Regions from separate parts of the Homo sapiens genome. Here all the other regions are linked to region 1. The links are contacts of gene promoters, found by promoter capture Hi-C in blood cells and fetal thymus (Javierre and others, 2016). All regions are on one chromosome and are shown on one strand. Each heading gives the region's core, a stretch centred on a gene start or on the middle of the fragment in contact. The rest is flanking DNA. Distances are from core to core; before and after follow the strand shown.

Region 1 (2,700 bases), core at 54-2,553:
TGAGATAGCTCATTTTACAAATGAAAAGCTGCATTTGAGAGAAGACTGAGATGACTTGGACCTAGGTCCCCTGGCAGAACTCCACACAGCACCACATTCATGCTCATGGACACTCCCAAATAACATTTGCCCTCCCTGTGCCCTGTGGATGTCAAAGTGTGCTTTGGAGGACATCTCTGTCCTTCCAGTGTCTGCAAAGGGCTCCAGAGTCATGTGCTGCAACCATTCCTCCTTCATCTCCCCACCCACCGTAAAATGAGAGGACAGATAAGGCAGTAGGGTGTGGTGGTTTAGAGTGTTAGCTCTGGCATCTGGGTTTAAATTTCATCTCCATGAATTATGAGGAATGTGATCTTGGATACTTTATAATACTTCTCTACACCTCCATTTCTTCATCTGTAACATGAAGGTTATTACTACCCTCATCAGATTGCTGGGAGTATCACTTGAGATACCCTGTTGATGAGCACTCCTCAGTACATAATAGAAGCTCAATAAATGCTAGTTGTTAGGTCCTTTCCAGCTCAGATATTCTATGATTCTATGGTTGTTTAATAATGGGTAGCATTTTTTGAGTACTTAATACATTCCAGGCACTTCTAAGCAATATGTATATGAAAGATTTTATGTATATGTATACATATAATTTCACATATACATATAAAATCTCATCCTAACCTCATAACCGTACTCTAAAGCTTGCACTGTTTTCACAATGATACAATGCCCATTTACAGACGAGGAAATGGTTATCGGAGAGATTAAACAACTTTACTTTGATCATGTAATTAAAAAGAAGCAGAACCAGAATTCTAGCTTGAGAGCTGGCCTTAACTACTTTGCTTTTCCTCCTATCTAAGAAAGTAGAATTAAGTCTTTTCATAGTTCTGCTTGTTTTTCTTGTCATTGCCCCCAAACAAAAAAGAAAGCCTTTCTGATTTAGCTGTTTGATCTCATTCAGGAGAATCTCCCCACAGTCACTGCCTGACCCATTTATTATAACATTATTTTGGATTTGGTGAATACAGTATACCAAGAGGTCAGTCCTATTTCCCTCTGACTATAGTATAGCCTAGGAAGCTTATGAAGAAAGTGCCCATAACAGAAATACAGCATATCTGCAAAATTTTCCATTTCCAATTTTGCAATTGTTCAATTGCAAAAAAGCTTCTAGATCATCCCAGCCTTGGAAGTCCAAACCAGATACACCAAGCAGTACTTACTGGAAGCCAAGAGGTCGCTGGTCCAGTGCTCAGGAAAGTGCCTTGTCCCGAGGATTCCTGAACTCACTCCTGCTGACTCTGAGCCTTGGTGCCTGGGTGAGGATTAAGCACAAACTCTGCTTGAAATCTGAACCACCAGGAAGTTCCCAAACTAATATCCTTGAGCAGATTTTATTCTTGCCCCAAACTGAAATGGAAGCTATGCCCTCAGGGGAAGTTCTGGGCCTTCATACTTGTGGCTTGCCACAGAACTCTCCTTGGTGTCCCAGCTGCCTAGCACCAAAAATGAAAGCAAACACATTAATAATAAAAAAAAATTCCTGCCAGACTTTGGACCATGGTCACAATAACCCTTATTGAGAACAACGCCAATTTACCCTCAACCGTCTGTGGTGACTACCATTGAAAAAAAATCCCTATGCCTCCCTCAGCCATATCTTAACCAATGTCTTCCTGGGAAGGGTAGAAAGGGTTCCTTTGTACCAGATGAGGAAACAAAAGCCTGGCTTCTCTAAACACTTGTACATGCCAATGGTTTCCAGGAAGAGTTGCTCATTCAGCCATGACAGAGTGTTACCATCAACAGGGTGGCGCTAGGCATGTTCCCCTGCACAGCCACCAACAGCAATTGAGCAAACCATCATTCTTAGACCTGGTGAGTGGTATCCAGCCACCAAAGGGTCTTAGGTATATTTTCATGTGTATTACAGATTTCTAGGGGAGAGGAAGAAGTGATGATGAATTTTATCCTGTTCTACTGCCTTTAGAAGTAAAAGTACATCATTTGAATCCTCATCCTCACGAGGGTAGCTGGTCTGGAATCAGCTCTGCCATGGATCCATTGTGTGGTCTTGGCAAGTTAACTGGAGTTCTCTGAGTCTGTTTCCTCATCTGCAAAATGGAACAGATAATACTGACTTCACAGGATTTTTTTTTAAAGTTAAGTAAAATTTCACATATAAAAAGCATCTAGCACAGTGCTTTATCCACAGTTAGCATTCAACAGAGGGTATTTCTTTGTTTTTCTCTTTTGCATCCTATGGAGGGTAGATGTTATTGGTTTCTTCATTTAGCAAACCTAGCTGGACTTCAGGCATACAGAAATTATTGATATATTGTTTGCTTCCTGCACAGGACCAGTTTTGCTTGATTTAGGAAAAACAATTTCTTAATTTTGATATAGTTTGGATGTCCCCTCCAAATCTCATGTTGAGATGTAATCCCCAGTGATGGAGGTGGAGTCTGGCTGGAGGTGTTGGGTCCTGGGGGTGGATCCCTCATGGCTTGGTTCTGTGTCTGAGATAGTGAGTTGTACTGAGGTCTTTATTTAAAAGTGTGTGGCATCTCCCCCAACTCTACTGCTCCCACTCCCACCAGGTGACATGGCTACTCCCGCCTCACCTTCCACCATGCGTAAAAGAAAGCCCCCTGAGGTCTTCTCAGAAGCTGAGAGATGCCAGGACTATGCTTCCTGTAC
Region 2 (2,700 bases), core at 148-2,647, 360 kb before region 1:
ATATTTAGATTCCTTTTCTATGCTTAATATGCTTTTAACAAAAGTACCAATAATTAGTTTAAAGAAGATGCCCATGCATAAGAGCGTGTGATCTAGTAAACTCTTTGTTGGAGACTTGGTGCCTCTATTTTCACCTTTTGATTGTCTTTTGACTTAGCTTTTCCTCTAACCACAGTCAAAGAAGGGAAATAAAAACAATCATTTTGTTTCCTCTTAAACTGTAAAGGTGTTTGGAGGGGGAATCATAGGTAATAAATCACATCATAATTTTCTTGACAGTCTGGACAGTGAATAGGTGTTCCTTAAGCTTTTTTTTTTTTTTTTTTTTTTTTTTGATACAGGGTCTCACTCTGTTACCCAGGCTGGAGAACAGTGGCATAGTCAGGGCTCACTGCAGGTTCAACTTACCAGGCTCAGGTGATTCTCCTCTCTCAGCCTCCCAGTAGCTGGGATTATAGGCATGTGTCACTACGCCCAGCTAATTTTTTTGTATTTTTCGTAGAGACAGAGTTTCTCTATGTTGCCCAGGCTGGTCTCGAACTCCTGGGCTCAAGCTATCCACCTGCCTCGGCCTCCCAAAGTGCTGGGATTACAGACGTGAGCAATCGTGCCAGCCAGGTGTTCCTTAAGCTTTTAAATTACCTGTACACATAACTTCCCGTGCACTGCCTTGTGGATGACTGTAACAGAGACTCCCTTTCCTGCCCATCTCCTTCAGAGCCAACTAGAGGAGGCAACAGAGGACTGTAAGGGTCCCTGGACTTGGACTTGGAAGACCCTACCTTGCCACTTTTTGTGAAACCTTTTACAAATCACCCACCTCATTGAGCTTCAGTTTTCTCATCTGTAAAAGGGGATGAGAAAGCTCACCTTGCAGAGCCATTCTGTGGAGTGAACAGGATAATGCATGGGAAAGAACTTTGAAAACTGCAAAGCTCTGCGACATGGACATATTATTAAGCTAAATCTTCAAAAATAGAGGTCTAATTTCTGTTTCTAAAAAAATAATTATTAAAAAAAGTTGAAGGATGCATATATATGTGTACTGTAAAAATTGTTGCTTTAATAGCATAAACTTTGCAACAAAGGGAAAAAATACCTTTAAATATGCATTCATGTGTATATGCAAAGAAAAAGTTCTGAATGGATACATACCAGACTCCACAGTGGTTTCTCCTGAAAATCACATTATAGAGTGGTGGACTTTCTATTTGAATTTATATTTTTCTGTTACTGGAAGTTTTTCAGCGAGTATGTACTACTTTTGCTATAGTTAACTTTAAAAATTATTATTCTAAGAATCATATCCTGATTTTTAGAGGGCTATATGCCTGACCCTCTAGCAAGGTAAAAGGGGGAGAGTGTGGAGATAGTATGTGTATGTATATATTTATTGTCTAGAAAGATCCTATTGTTCAATTTTCTGATTTCTTTGGAACAGACTGAGTTTGGGAAGAGGTGGGAGAAGGTGATGTGTGTTGCTGAAAGAGAGCCACGCTCTTTTGAGCAGCATCAACTGAGATCTATAATCCAATTCCAGTTTCAGACCTTGGTTTGACTTTTCAACAGCTACCGAGAAACACTTGGAGCCTAATCCCATTTCTACAAGTGGATTGGTAGGTGTAGCCACTGCATTTGGAGAATAAGTACAATGGAAGAATGGAAGAATGCTGTGTGCGTGTTCTACTCATTCTCAACCCAGCCCCTTCCTCTTGTGCACAACCACACAAAGTCAGCAGGGGAAGTGTTCAGATGGCTGGAGCTTTTAAATTCATAATTGTCTGACATTCTCACACAGCTTCTGTCCTGAGGGCCTGGTTCTATCATATACATTGTGTGTGTGTGTGTGTGTGTGTGTGTGTGTGTGTGTGTGTGTGTGTGTCGGGGGGGGGCAGTTACCTTTTTGTAGGAATGGGGAAGAAAAGAGAAAAAGCCCCGTAAGGATTGGGATGTTTACTAATTCCAACAAAAGGGAGGTGTTCGCATGAATCGCATCTCGAACCTCCCTTGGAGGGAGGTCTAGATGTTTCATTTCCAGCCACCCTTTGTGTGGGACACAGAGATGGTGCTGATGAAGATGAGCAGCCAGACAAGCAGCGGCGTCTCCATACCTGTCACCCCGCCACATGCTTCGCTCTCATTCTCTTAAATGTAATAAAGCTTTCCCCTCAATACTTTGCTGAGGTTCTGTGGTGCTTCCAAAGCAACACATATAACTTAAGCACTGCTCCTAACTCAAATGATGTGTGTTTTGATGGACTCATTGCTGCCACTTGGACTCAGCCATTATGCTAAGCAAGAAACATGTGCTAGGCCAGGAGCGGTGGGTCACGCCTGTAATCTCAGCATTTTGGGAGGCCAAGGCAGGTGGATCACCTGAGGTCAGGAGTTCAAGATTAGCTTGGCCAACATAGTGAAACCCTGTCTCTACTGAAAATATAAAAATTTGCTGGGTATCGTGGCGGGAGCCTGTAATCCCAGCTACTTGGAAGGCTGAAGCACGAGAATCGCTTAAACCTGGGAGACGGAGGTTGCAGTGAGTAGAGATTACACCACTGCACTCCACCCTGGGCAACAGATCGAGACTCCTCAAAAAAATAAAATTGGCCGGGTGTTGTAGCTCACGCCTGTAATCCCAGCACTTTTGGGAGGCCAAGGTGGGCAGATCACTTGAGGTCAGGTATTCGAGCCCAGCCTGGC
Region 3 (2,700 bases), core at 104-2,603, 390 kb before region 1:
ACCTACTAATCAGCACATGTGTGAGGGAACTGCCAAGGCAGAGAAAGAATTTTCAGAAAGGAGGAGGATGACAGTCTCTGGAGCTCAACACGGCTAAGCCATCTAAATTTTCTCTTTACTTTGAGTTACAGAATGAGGAATTGAAATTCCAAATTCATAAAAACAGTAATGATTCTCAACTACCTGAGTTGCTTCAAGATCAGAACATCATACTTGGTCATGTCTGATATCTGTGGTACTTTCCTCATCTTCATCCAGAGTGCTAAGAGACAGGCTCCTGAAACCTGTTAGAATACTAGCACTTAGGAACAAAAGAACTGTTACAGATCTGTGTAAGAGATCTTAATGGCAGCTTTGAGCTCAGATGAAACCAGGTAGTCTGTAAATAGGTTAGAGAGGTGATTTAAGGCTGACTTCTGTAAGGTTACATGGTGCAGATTGCTAGAAAATGAACAAGCATATTGACTTGGTATGTAGAAATTCACTAGTTCTTTTTAACTAAAGGCATTTATTAACCAGCAAGCTTTGTGCATAACACTGTATTAGATAACTTGGAGGCTATAAAAGCCTTAGGAGACACAGTCGTTACTTTCAAAGAGTGTCCAAGATGGGCTCCCGGTTACTTGTTTTATGTATTTACCTATTGGATGTTGGAAGGAGTCCCTGGATCAAAGGATACAAGATTTAATAATCATGTGGTTATTATAGTCTACCTCTTGAGATGTGGGCAAGAGACACGAGACACTTAGTAAATTTTTCTTGAGGCACCCTTTCTGGTTTCTGGTTCCTGCCCACCAAGTCTTAGGTACTAATAATACTGCAGTCCTGTAGCTTACTGGATCCATTGTGATCAGTAGCTTCTGGTCAGACCCCCAGTGCATATTACCAGAACTTAAGAGTAGGTGGGCTGGCTACCCAGATCATCAGACTACCCAAGAGAAACAATTTGTTTCCTTCCCTAAACTCCTTTGGGATTTAACTGAAAATGTGTTTTAAACACCTAGCCTGTAAAAACAGAAGCCTTTTATTTGGAGTACAGTAAATAAAGATGAATTTCCCCCAGTGTACCTCATCTACTTGTTTGCCTACCTGGTTGCTACTTATTCACCTACCTGATATCAGGATGAGATAATCTCACTGAACGTATATACGGCTAGCAATAGATGTGGCTGTGGTTCTTTGGCTGCCATGGTTTGACTATGCTGGGTGCTTGCCAGACATAACTGCTTCAGAGAAAGCTAGAAGAATATTCTTGGACCCAGAAGCTAGACCAGCAGGAGGTTGTAGATGGTAATATAGTACAGGCCTAATGTGTGACAAGGGCTTGGTGTATTTTATGATATGTTCTGTACACTAGGTCACCCGAGGTAAGACTGTTGCTTAATAAGCTCTTCTCCCGAGGCTGTCGTGTTGTCAGTGATAGTGTCATTCTTAAATGGTTTGTTTACTCAGAAGGCCCAGTCATTAGAAGCCAGAATGGGCTTCTTATTTGCTTTGCCATTTTATCTCACTTAATAAAACTATATTCTATGTTCTATAACTGTAGTGTTCTATAACTGTATTCTATTGACTATATTGTATTATGGAATAACAAGGTCCAAATTTACCCTTCTACCTTAAAAAACAAAAGACAAAATATATGAAATGAAGGCTTTCAGACTTGAGACAACAGGCAGCATAGGACAGTGATCTCTGAGTGAAGGGAAACAAATGAGGTATTCCTGGAGAGTTCCAGTCTGCAGAACAAGAAGAACCTGGACAGCCCAGCAGTCTACCTGAATTGAGGAGATAGAGTTCAAAATATGGGGAACCAAGGCAGAGTCCCAGAAAAGAGAAAAATACAACAATGTGCAGTGAGTTCCCTTCAAGTCTTCAGCTGACTACTGATCAGTACATGTGTGCGTGCGTGCGTGTATGTGTGTGCGTGCGTGTGTGTGTGTGTGTTAAGAGAGGAAACTACAGAGGAGGGGGAAGAAATAGGGGCAACAATCCCTAGAGCTCCCACAAGGCTAGGAAATTGTTCATGTTTCCATCAGTCAAAGAGAAATGACCTCTCAACACACATCAGGCAGGGCTGCATCAAGCAGCCCCCAGAAGGTTATTGCTTTAGTTGTGAGGATGAATTTGCCTTAGATTAAGTCTGTTATAAATCTGCCTTAACAAAACTTTAAAAGCAAGCTTCAAATAATTTGTTTCAAGTAAATTTACTATGTCCCAAAACAAAGGCCCAAAATATTTAAATGACTACGAAGAACTCTGGCACCTAAAAGCATAAATTTACTGTGTTTGGCATCCAGTCAAAAATTACCAGGCATGCAAAGAGGCAGGAAAATGGAGCCCATCATGAGAAGGAAGGAACACTAGATCAGTAGGAACAGATCCAGGCACGGTGTCTCACACCTGTAATTCTAGCACTTGGGGAGGCTGAGGTGGGAGGATTGCTTGAGGTCAGGAGTTTGAGACCAGCCTGGGCAACATAGCGAGGTCCCCATCTCTACACAAAGAACTTTAAAAATTAGCCAGGTGTGGTGGTGTATGCCTGTAGTCCTAGCCACTTGGGAGGCTGAGATGGGAGGATCACTTGAGCCCAGGAGTTGAAGCTATGATCATGCCACTGCACTCCAGCCTGGGCAACACAGCAAGATCCTGTCCTGTGTCTTAAAAAAAAAAAAGATTCAGAAATGACATAAATAATAGAAT

The links. Contacts are between HindIII fragments. The CHiCAGO score rates a contact against its expected background, and 5 or more counts as called.
Region 2: a fragment that was not itself captured here is called in contact with the fragment with the promoter of PLEKHS1 in region 1 in 4 of 17 cell types (endothelial precursors, erythroblasts, megakaryocytes and 1 more); the score reaches 6.8 in endothelial precursors.
Region 3: a fragment that was not itself captured here is called in contact with the fragment with the promoter of PLEKHS1 in region 1 in 1 of 17 cell types (M2 macrophages); the score reaches 5.5 in M2 macrophages.

The regions. Positions count from the first base shown.
Region 1 is chr10:113,750,285-113,752,984 of GRCh38, reverse strand. It overlaps PLEKHS1 (pleckstrin homology domain containing S1), which reads right to left and starts at 1,303. Exons shown (of 13, transcript NM_001395068.1): 1 at 1,224-1,303. The HindIII fragment of the contact is 1,743 bases long and covers 1,170-2,700 here.
Region 2 is chr10:114,111,891-114,114,590 of GRCh38, reverse strand. No RefSeq gene overlaps it. Among named protein-coding and RNA genes, the nearest start is that of MIR2110, 61 kb to the left of the region's middle. The HindIII fragment of the contact is 1,530 bases long and covers 633-2,162 here.
Region 3 is chr10:114,140,873-114,143,572 of GRCh38, reverse strand. All of the region lies in intron 6 of CCDC186 (coiled-coil domain containing 186), which reads left to right. Among named protein-coding and RNA genes, the nearest start is that of MIR2110, 32 kb to the left of the region's middle. The HindIII fragment of the contact is 1,655 bases long and covers 526-2,180 here.